Linked DNA regions of Homo sapiens: regions 2, 3 and 4 are each linked to region 1. The links are contacts of gene promoters, found by promoter capture Hi-C in blood cells and fetal thymus (Javierre and others, 2016). All regions are on one chromosome and are shown on one strand. The core of a region is centred on a gene start or on the middle of the fragment in contact, and the rest is flanking DNA. Distances in the headings are between cores, read along the strand shown. Region 1 holds the start of SAMD7 (sterile alpha motif domain containing 7). Region 2 overlaps GPR160 (G protein-coupled receptor 160). Region 3 overlaps PHC3 (polyhomeotic homolog 3). Region 4 overlaps PHC3 (polyhomeotic homolog 3).

Evidence for each region. Contacts are between HindIII fragments. The CHiCAGO score rates a contact against its expected background, and 5 or more counts as called.
Region 2: a fragment that was not itself captured here is called in contact with the fragment with the promoter of SAMD7 in region 1 in 1 of 17 cell types (total B cells); the score reaches 5.1 in total B cells.
Region 3: a fragment that was not itself captured here is called in contact with the fragment with the promoter of SAMD7 in region 1 in 2 of 17 cell types (total B cells and naive B cells); the score reaches 5.6 in total B cells.
Region 4: a fragment that was not itself captured here is called in contact with the fragment with the promoter of SAMD7 in region 1 in 1 of 17 cell types (total B cells); the score reaches 5.0 in total B cells.

What each region holds. Positions count from the first base shown.
Region 1 is chr3:169,910,005-169,912,881 of GRCh38, forward strand. SAMD7 (sterile alpha motif domain containing 7) reads left to right here and starts at 1,568. Exons shown (of 9, transcript NM_001304366.2): 1 at 1,568-1,817. The HindIII fragment of the contact is 322 bases long and covers 1,414-1,735 here.
Region 2 is chr3:170,063,393-170,066,286 of GRCh38, forward strand. The region is part of intron 2 of GPR160 (G protein-coupled receptor 160); the gene reads left to right. Among named protein-coding and RNA genes, the nearest start is that of GPR160, 27 kb to the left of the region's middle. The HindIII fragment of the contact is 1,880 bases long and covers 429-2,308 here.
Region 3 is chr3:170,098,008-170,100,737 of GRCh38, forward strand. The region is part of intron 14 of PHC3 (polyhomeotic homolog 3); the gene reads right to left. Among named protein-coding and RNA genes, the nearest start is that of GPR160, 61 kb to the left of the region's middle. The HindIII fragment of the contact is 1,943 bases long and covers 285-2,227 here.
Region 4 is chr3:170,114,170-170,117,035 of GRCh38, forward strand. The region is part of intron 10 of PHC3 (polyhomeotic homolog 3); the gene reads right to left. All of the region lies in intron 2 of LOC105374209 (a long non-coding RNA gene), which reads left to right. Among named protein-coding and RNA genes, the nearest start is that of PHC3, 66 kb to the right of the region's middle. The HindIII fragment of the contact is 2,730 bases long and covers 239-2,866 here.

The DNA of each region.
Region 1 (2,877 bases), core at 318-2,817:
AAATATTATAAATGCTAATAATTTATGAGACACTTCAAAATGCATATACAACACAAGAAAGACAGTTTAGTAAAAATTAGGGCAAAGGGAAAATAATGTTAGGAAAAATAAGATGAAGCCATAGATCATTTCTGGTTTTAAAATGCATGTCTAGGCTGGGCATGGTGGCTCACGCCTATAATCCCAGTACATTGGGAGGCCGAGGTGGGTGGATTGCTAGAGTCCAGGAGTTCAAGACCAGCCTAGGCAACATGGCGAAAGCCTGTCTCTACAAAAAAATACAGAAAAAAAATTAGCCAGGCATGCGGTCGTGCACCAGTGGTCCCAGCTACTTGGAGGCTACGGTGGGAGGATTGCTTGAGTCTGGGGACATAGAGGCTACAGTGAGCCATGATTGTGCCACTGCACTCTAGCCTGGGTGGCAGAGCAAGAACTTGTCTCAAAAATAAATAAATAAAAATATAATAAAATGCATGCCTAAAGGCAGGTCCTGAACTTCCTACTAACCAACACAAAGAATGCAACACACTAGTTACGTGATTCCTGAGGTTTTATTTTGGCCTTATTTTTCAGAACAACAACAACAACAATAACAACAACAAAACAATTGTCCCTAGTACTACAAGCTGAGAAAAATTCCTCCCATGGATCCTCAACAGAGGACTCTGTGCAATATAGTTACCTAACATAATGGCTAATGTTTAGTGAGAACTATTCAAGCATTTTGTCTACCTTGTTGCCTTCCCTTTCCCAAGAAGGGCTCTTCTGAGATGAGGAAACTAAGGCTCAGAGAAGTTCAGTAACTTGGCCAGGCCATACAGCTAATGAGTGGTGGTGCTGAGGCTTATTGAGTCTGTTGGTCATCTAAGTCCCTGCTGTTGACCACTGCTTTATGAACAATAACCCTGGAATAAATACAGTCAGTTCCACATGCTATTTCTTATAATGAGTTCAACAGCCAATGATAAAAATGTGTGTCAACAAAGGAGCAGGTTACCTTCAAACTGGAAGCCTAAAGCATTACTTGAAACACAACTTAAATTTCTTATATTCAATTCTTATTTTGTACTTCCTACTAGTAAATTACTAGGAATCAAAAAATATGGATGTTCTTTTTCAAGCTATAAATGTTTCTCTAGCAAATATAACAGGTCACATTTTCAAAATTCCGTGTTTTCCCTCTTATATAGATCACAGCTCTCACACAGATGATAAAGGGTTTTCTCACTGCCTGTGAGAATTAAAGTACAGTTGTCCATTATAGAAGCTTCTTTTTAAAATAGACTGCCATCTTTCATCAAATGTTTCAGCTCTGTGGAAAATAACTTAGGTTTTTTCCTACTCGCAAAAGAAATGTTTCCACTTGAAACCTGTTGGAAATATGGAATAGGCTATATAGTTCCATCAAAGAAAAGCTTATTACTTATTTGCATAGTATATTTCTTTTGTGTCAAGTTGAACAGTGGTATTAAGTGAATGCCCACAAAGCATCTTAAAGGCTAAGGAAGGATTACACTAAAGGCTAAGCTCTGAGACAGGTTTATGCACCTTGCAGGGCACTTTCCTTGGGCTTAACATCTTTTAGCCTATCTGTAGAGGATATCAGAGGGCAAAGTTTCTGTCATGAAATAGGACTAATCAACTTAGTTGAATTTGTATTTAAAGCAAGGTTAAACTGAATTAAGACCATTTTTGAAAGAATTGTCAGATGTACCTTTCAACCCGCAGCCAGAGAAGCTTCTGCAGTTGAAGGCCAGAAAGTCTTTGTATGGTTCTTCCATCTGCAATATCAAAGACAAGAAGTCTTCATAGAGGATGTAAGTATGTAACTCTACACATTGATTAGCCCAAAATTGAGGCCAGTTACTCTGAGTAAAATGTTTCACATATAAAATAAAAGGACATCTTTATCTTAAAGGAAATGCTTAGGTTTATGTGTAGACTTTACTGGCTATTACTAACAGTATGTGAGCTAATAAATTCCTACTTGACTGAAGTTACTAACGAGTAAAGATGATATACCACTCCTACCAAATAAACACTGCCTGGTCTTAGTTTTTGGAGTTTTTTAAGTGAAAGTAAAATGAAGTTTATTTAAGATAAAGTCAGTTCAAAGTTGTATGTAAATTTACTGTAGTTTTATTATCTTCAAACAGATGAAGTACCTACCTCTATGTATTACTGCTGTTTATTTACTATATATTATTATTTTAATGGCCCCCCATTACTATAGATATCTATATTCCAAAAATTGTCATGATGTATGAACCATGAAATGTCAGAGTAGAAAATTTCAGAAAAACATTGAGGAACAATCAATGATAATCATGAAATAAAATCTATATTGATATTCCTTAATTCATTCTTTAAGACTATCTAACTAAAACACCTACTATTCAGTTCCATTATATGAGTACTGCTAGAATTTCACTTTAGTCTCTACAGATTTATATATAATGGACTTTGCTTCACAATCTTTTGAAGAAAGTGAACATAATTTATACAAACTGTAGTTGCACATAAATTATATTGAGTCCAGTAGAAATTACATAATTTTGACTTCTTTAATGATGTCAAAGGTTTACCTTTTTCTTTACAATACTTGTAATTGTGCCTAGAACCTGACATTTCAAGAAGACATGGATAGGTCTAATGAAAATGAGCTTCCAGAGTAAAAAGAAATAAGAAGTGACAGCAGCCAGCACGTAACCCACTGTCTTCAATGCTTTCCAGGGTATGTGCTATGGTGAAATGCAGTTAGAAAAGTCCTAAAGCTTATGCCTTTAGGAAAAGTGAAATACATTTTAGCAGCACTGCCAAGTGCTTCGGTATGAACTGTCTTTCTAAAGTTCTCCTCCGTCCTTGGCAGAGATGGGA
Region 2 (2,894 bases), core at 119-2,618, 150 kb after region 1:
GCGTGGTGGTGCATGCCTGTAATCCCAGCCACTGGGGAGGCTGAGGCAGGAGAATCGCTTGAACCCAGGAGGTGGAGGTTGCGGTGAGCCGAGATCCCGCCATTGCACTCCAGCCTGGGTGACAGAGTGAGACCATGTCTCAAAAACAAACAAAAAAAGCAAAAAAAAAAAAAAAAAAAAAACCTCAGCACAGGATTAGAGCCAAACGTGAACTAGGAAGCCGCGCGAGTCTCCTCTCTCCGGTGGAAGAGCTGGGACGTGTCCCCCACACCGCGACGAGGTATGAGGAAGACGCTGTCTCCCAAAGGCCTGGACGGGATGGCTCCAAGCTCTTGTTCTCCTAACATCTGGACAGGCGCTCTTTGAAGTGTATGAATATATTTTTAAAAGATTGGGCAGTAAGCTTGTCTTCCCCGTGCTTTCTCGAAAGCTTACTGAGCTCGTGGCCCTGAGCGCGGGCCGGCATAGATTTCCTCTTCCACCCGCTGCGGCTTTTCTGAGCACCTGGAAGCATCGGGGTGTGAAGTCAAACCAGACGTGGGTGAGGAGAGTGTGGCTTGCCTTCCCTGCCGGGCAGAATTTCCTGAAACTGGGCTAATTCTTTGTAGAAATGTGAACGCTGAATTTATTAAAAAATAATAATAAAACACAGGAAACAACTTACATGTACATAGGTCTTGAAGTGAGTGAAGCGGCTGTATTTTTTTGGGGGGGGCATTGCTTTTGTTTTTGTAGAAGAGATTGAGATGATACTCTATTCTAATCAAAATTAGAGATTTGTAGTGGGACCAGAAATTACGTACTTAATACCCCTGCCAGTTTTCCCCGCGTCCTGCTGGGTTGAAAGTTCCAGAGCTGCCGTCTAGGCCTCGTGTTTGTCAGACACCCACGGCTCCTGCGAGGTCGCAGCCATGAGCTGGCGGGGGTGAGTACACAAGCCCAGATCCCCCAACCCGAACTGCGGCTGCCAGCCTCAGAGAAAGGCGCCCAGGTGTGCGGGCAGGGCCGAGACCCCCGGGAATCTAAGATAGGCCAAGGTTTTCACCTAGACTGTCAAGGCTGGAGGAGTAGGTGGCGGCCTCGACCCTCCCTACACGGGACCCATTCTTTTCTTTTCTTTTCTTTTTTTTTTTTTTTTTTTTTTGAGGCAGAGTCTCACTCTGTCGCCCAGGCTGGAGTACAGTGGCACAATCTCGGCTCGCTGCAATCTCCACCTCCCGCGTTAAAGCGATTCTTCTGCCTCAGCCTCCTGAGTAGCTGGGACTACAGGCACATGCCACCGCGCCTGGCTAATTTTTTGTATTTTTAGTAGAGACGGGGTTTCACCATGTTGGCCAGGCTGGTCTCAAACTCCTGATCTCGTCATCCGCCCGCCTCGGCCTTCCAAAGTGCTGGGATTACAGGCGTGAACCACCGCACCCAGCTATGCAGGACCCATTCTTACTGAGTGAGACTCGGGAGTCATGACCTGGTGTCTCCTGCCCACCCTGGTCCCAGGTAAATCTGAATGGAAGCAGGTATGAGAGCCTGTCCTCGCCTTTGATTCCCCCACCCCACCCTGGGCCTCACAACGGTGCTACCTAAGAAAGTCTCTTCCCCCAGTCAGCCTGGTGAGTGGTCAGCCGAAGAGGATCTGACGGGAGTGTAGATGTGAGATAGTATCTTTGTTGTACCTGTTTGTGGTTTAGCTTTGTATTTAAACAAATGAGGAAATAAACTTGAAAATTATTTGTCATCATAAAGTTGAAACAAAAATTATTTTAAAAAATAAAGTTTTATTTTAAAATAAAATAGCTAATGAGTATCGTACATTACAATTACATTTCCTTTCTAAACTTTTTTGTTTTCCTTTCAGTTATCTGTCTGCTTTTTTTTCTATATACTTATCGCTAATTCAACCACAGACTCTTCTCTTTTGTGTAAATCTTTTGGTATGTTCAAAGATATTTGGAATTTCCACCTTCCTGGAGGAATTTCTCCCATAGCCATGTGCCCTACTCTAATTTAGATTGTGCACTCTGGATCTGATGCCTAGATAATCTTCACCAACCTCGGAATCCTCGAATTGTACTCTACATGGTTTTTCTTCTCTTCTAATGCATCCCATTTCCTGGACCGCATGTATTGCTCTCCTAGTTTATTATTCCTCATTCTGATGACGTATGCCTTTCTTTCATTGGCTTCCTAAGAACTTCATGTGAGTAAAACATTTTTGAGTATGTGGCTTCATTTTATACCTACACTTAATTGACCATTTAGTTTGGTGTAGAATTCTATGTTGGAAAGTTTCTTTCATGAAATATTAAAAAGCTTTTTAAAGTAAACTAAATACTTAAATTATTTGTGTAATTGAGAATTGTACCAATTTGTAGATAACTTGTTTTTTTCCTTACTCAATGTGTTTAATTTTTTGAATACTTAATACAGTCACATGTTTAGCAGAATGTTCATAGTAGGAAAAAAAATGTACTGAAGTCTTCATCTCATTCATGACCCCATCTGCCAAGTTCCTACCCCTGTAACCACTGTCTTTAACTTTTTTTTTTAAGAGATGGGGTCTCGCTATGTTGCCCAGACTATACTCAAACTACTGGGTTCAAGCAATCCTCCTGCCTCAGCCTCCTGAGTAGCTGGGATATAGGCATGCACACATGCCCAGTGCTCACTTTTTAAGTGTCCTTCCAGGGTTTCTTCATGTATATATAGAAGATTACTTGACACTATTCTTTTTCTTTTTCTTTTTTTTTTTTTTTTTTTTTTTTTTTTGTGACAGAGCCTCGCTCTGTCACCCAGGCTGGAGTCCAGTGGCACGATCTCGGCTCCCTGCAAGCTCTGCCTCCCGGGTTCACGCCATTCTCCTGCCTCAGCCTCCCGAGTAGCTGGGACTACAGGCG
Region 3 (2,730 bases), core at 6-2,505, 190 kb after region 1:
ACTATCACTGGGCTTGTCTCCACTTTTGTTAAGAAAACAATTCTCATTGAAATTATGAGCTTGCTGGCGAATTTCCTGCCATATAACCAATATTTTAGCTCTCAGTCTAAACCAGGTGCTTTAGCAGGTAACAATGCTAGTATCTACCTGAAACTCAAATGTTTTTACTGTCTACCAAATTTTCACATCCAAATTACTCAATAAACTTACCCATTAAGGGTAAAGAAACCAATAGGAAAGGTAATCAATTAAGTAGCTGAGATGAGAGAATATAAAAATATGGAAGCTTTCTTGAGAGACAGTAAAATTTTAAGATGAATTTAAGAATACACATAAAAACTGACAGCTTAAGTTTTTCTATTTTATTCAAATCAGCATTCTAAGGGAAAACACAAAGAAAAAGATAATGAAAAATGAAAATAGTTACATTACACTTTTGGATGCCACAATTTTGCTAGTTCAATTATCCTTTCTACTTGCAAATGTATCATCCTCTTGTTTATGTAAGATTATGATGTCTTACAACCCCAGCACAAAGCACAAAGCATTATAGGTACTGAATACATAATATTTGTCAATAAGGACTGAATTAGTGAATACACAATAAACAAAAATATAATCTGCTATAGAAGAGCTATCTGTAAGAGTAATACAAACATTTTTTCCTGTGTACAGCTGTGTGTCCATTTTTTCTCTTGCTTATTTCTTTTCTCACGTCCTCTGTTACTTGTATCTTTACTGTTTCCTATATAACAACTAGCTTTTCAATTTCTATTTTAATAATTTCTCAGACTTTGAAAAATTGACATTTCAATACCCTCTACGAAATTATTATGCTTTTGCACATTTATCTTATAAAAGAAACTATAGTTGAAATGGGATTACTCACCATAGAAAAGCCCCTTTTCTTTTCCCAGAGGTAGCTCTCAACAAAACTGGGCAGACAAAACTGACTAATCTTGCATCTAGTTGTGACTTCATCCTTCTTTTTATGAAAGAACTAATGTTCTTCTCTCTTCAGTCTTACTTACAAGAACACAGGAAAGAAAAGAAGAGAGAGAAAGATAGGGTGGGACTTACTTAGATTCAGAAAACAAGAGCAATGAGAAGTAATGAGAACTATAAGAGCTACATTTGGGAATAGAAACAAGGAGTTCTCCATGAGGAAAATATGTAGCACATTCCTGTTCCTCTGTATTGTGAGATTCCTCTTCAAATATCCTCTTGTAGGTGAACAGTAAATGTATTAGCAAAATAATATAGAACAAAAAGTGTTTTGGGAATTAGCACGATCAAATAGGAATGCATTTTAGATCACAACTTTCTTAAGCTAACCACAAAAAAAGTATAGTTACATCAGTATAGAAATTTAAAAAAAAGTGACTTAGAAAAATTGGAAGCAAGTATGCTTCCAGAATCTCATTACAGAAAAATATATTTTAAAAACAATTTTAAGTGCTCAAGGTATACTGAGATAAAGTTCTGAGTTTCTGACATTAACATCTACTTTGGTAAAATGCCTGGATCCCGGGGATGTGTACAAAACATACACCAACTGACACAGCCAGTCAGCTGAGCTAGCTTCACCTCACCAGAAGCAAGTGTAGTGCAGCTCTCAGCACAGGCAAGGACCTCTGCACATGGGTCCCAACTGATCTTTCAAGTGTCTGGCATCACTTCTCCAGCTAAACTCAAAATAAAACACCCTGCACAAAAATTGACCACAGTAAGGTTGGTGAAAAGGTATCACCTGCCACTCAATACTACAGAATAAACAAGTCCCAATACTGATATTACAAAAACCAGTAAATAGTCATGTTTTAAAAAATGATTCCTAGTTTATATGCCTACAGAAAAATCAAATCTACTGTGGATTCACCCTTCAATAAACAGAGGACAAACTGATCTCTGCAAAAGGCAGTTCACCATAGCAAGGAAAGGTTAAAGAAGATAACCCGCAGTAAATTGAAAATAAGAATTATTCCTGTAGATAACTTTTTAATGCAGAGAAAATTAGAAGGCGGTAATTTTTCATTCTGTTAACAGCTCTGAGATTCTGGTCTACTGCATACAAGCTCTAACATAGTCTGAACAGGATGGTTAACAAGACGATATACAAAGAGAAGAGAAAACTGGAGGAGTAAATATAAATGCCCTGGTTAAAGAGGGAAGGAAGCCTATCTCAACTGGAAAGAAACAAAATACAAAAGAGATTACAAAATTTACAAGCTTGTTCATCCTATGAGAAAAGCTTGGGAGTAGACTACTCAGGGAAAACAAACAGCGCTTAATGAGAGCTAAAAGAAGCTCAAAACGAAATTTACAAAGTCCAGAGAAGCAGAAAGAAATGAACACTAAGGCATTTTCTGGTATGAGATTACCTTAAACTATAGGCATTATGCAGAGAAAACTGTGAGAAAGGTGATACAACTAATCACACAAATAAGCTTATTATTTGGCCTGTCAAAGCAGTTTGGAAACACTCCCATTTCATAAGTAAAGAAGAGAGTCATATTAACCAGACTCTAAAATAGTAGTAAGCAATTCTAAATTATATAATAGCTGTGTCCTTTTTATGATATATAATGTTTTCTAAATACCTGGCAACAAAATTAAGTGTCTAGATGAACTCTATAAGACAAGCATTTTAAGTTATGAGGAATATTAAGTTTTATGTTTTTTTAACTCAAATGATGCAAGAATGAGGCAAAGGAATTTGCCTTTGTTCTG
Region 4 (2,866 bases), core at 354-2,853, 200 kb after region 1:
TGGCTAATTTTGTATTTTTAGTAGAGACGGGGTTTCTCCATGTTGGTCAGGCTGATCTCGAACTCCCAACCTCAGGTGATCCACCCACCTCAGCCTCCCGAAGTGCTGGGATTACAGGCGTGAGCCACTGCGCCCGGCCAATTTTAGTGTTTTCCATACGAATGCAAGACAAACAAAAGATCATCAGTAAATGCTGACATGCCAGTATCCTCAACTAATTAAGATTTTTCATGCACAAAGCTTTTTATTTGTAGGGTTAATGATCAAGACAAAATTATTGGATGTATTTTCTGGATAAGAAAACTAAAATTCAAAATGTTTAGGTGATTTGTTTACAAAAACAGAATGAGGACTAGAACTCAAGTCTCCTGAATCCTAGTTTAGCAAACTAATCCACTATAATCACAAAAGAAATGGAAAATCCTCAAATATTAACAAATTAACATCAAAATATTCACTTATATTCAGTATACTTGGTTAACTCAGGAATACTACCTATTTTAGAAGTATTTTCAACAAAAACAACTCAGATCAAATATATTCATTGATTCACTGGTGAGCCCTCAGCTAATTTAAAAAACAGAATGACTAGAACATCTTATTCCTCAAGAATGCTGGTTAAGTCTCCAATATCTGCCACATATGGGGAACAACAGCTTATTGGACAGAAACTTCTACATTTAACTTTAGAGTATAATTACTCACAAACTTTTTAAACATTTTGTTCATTTGAGTTAGATATTTAATATGCCTCAAGTGAAATTAAAATTTACAGAAGTTATTGCTTAAAGAAAAACTCACATTCAATGCTAAGGGCATACACTTCTCACAGATGAATAAATTTAAATCATTTTCCAAAAAATAATTCAGCAATACGTATCAAGAGTCTTATGAATATCTATGTAATATGACATAATAACTCTATTTCTAGGAATTCATACTAAGAAACTTATTTAAAATGTGTATGATTTATATATATAGATATTCCTTTCAGAACTATTTGAACAGTGAAAAAATGGAAACCTAATGTCCAACAATAATGGAAAGATTACATAAATTATGGATGTTCATAAAGTGAAATATTATGTAACCTTTCAAAATGTTTCCAATACTATTAATAATGAGAAAATACTCAAATTTCCTCAGTGAAAGGAGAACTGTATGTACCATAATCTTGATTATATGTATGTATCTATAACATATATACATTATATACACAAACACATATACATTAAAACCACAGTATGTATATGTACATATATACAATACATATGTACATATATACCACAATACATATGTATACACATATACATACTGTGGTATTAATGTGTACTGTGGTATATATAGACATAAACATATTGTGGTATTAATGGGGATCATTTGCCCTGTACATTTCCCAAATCTTCCATTTAGAACATGTATTAGTTTTATAATGTGAAAATAAAAGTTATGGCTCTCACTAGTGATAACAGATAATAATGGCTATGGCCATGAAGTGCCAGGTACCATACAGAATAATTTATGCACATTTAGTTCTCTCGACAACTCTAAGAGCAAAGCACCGTCTCCACCTGACAAATAAGCAAAATAAAGATCAGAAAGTTTGAATGACTTGACAAAGGTTACCCAGTCAGTATGGAGCAGACAGGGAAAAAAGACTGTTCCTCCATCCACTGTATGAGAATTGTTATAGGAAATCCAAGTTTCTCACACACACACACACACACACACACACGAAATTGAACACAAAAACAACTGATTGGGTAGCTATCTATCATAATGCAAGATTTTCACCCATGAATCTGAAAATCCAGATGACTCAAAAGGCCTTCAAAAAATTTTTCATATTTTTATATATGCTTGTCTTTGATATATTTTCTAAGGAAAAATGTTTATCTCTAGATATTAGCATACAAATTATGTACAGCTTAGCTTCAAGTTGTAAGACCTGTAGTGATAGAGGACCTTCATTTTGAGCGGGACATTTTAAAGCATTTGAAAAATATGATTGAAGGCTGAAATTTAGGAATGAGAAAATATATTTGCTAATTACAAACCATCAATTGGGTAGCTTCAGATGTAACTTCAGATGATTTAAAATAATACACTTTATGGCCAGGTGCAGTGGGTCACACTTGTAATCCAAGCACTTTGGGAGGCTGAGGCGGTAGATCACTTGAGGCCAGGAGTTTGAGACCAGCCTGGTCAAGATGGTGAAACCCCCTCTTCGGTACTAAAAATACAAAAATTGGTCAGGCGTGGTGGTGCATGCCTGTAGTCCCAGCTACTGAGGTAGCTAAGGCATGAGAATCACCTAAACCTGGGAGGCAGAGGTTGCAGTGAGCTGAAACAGTGCCACTGCACTCCAGCCTGGGTGACAGAGCGAGACTCTCTCTCAAAAACTCAAATAAATAAATAAAAATAAAAATAGTAGTACACTTCAGCTGTCATTTCAGTTCCCTTAAAAAGAAAAAATGAGCCGAGCGCCATGCCATGGCTCACACCTGTAATCCCAGCACTTTGGGACCCCAGGAGTTAAAAACCAGCCTGAGAAACACGGCAAGACCTTGTCTCTACAAAAAAATACAAAAATTAGTGGGGCACGGTGGCGCACACCTGTAGTCTCAGCTACTCAGGTGGCTGAGGTAGAAGAATCAACTGAGCCCCAGGGGTCAAGGTAACAGTGAGCCATGATCGCACCACTGCACTCTAGCCTGGTCAACAGAGCAAGATCCTGTCTAAAAAAAAAAAGAAAGAAAAAATATAAAAGTTGATTTCACTGAATAAACTTCCAACTACCTTTCTCTAAAAATTATAAAAATATGTCCTGAAATTTTTTTCATTTTTTCCCTTAGTTTATGCATCT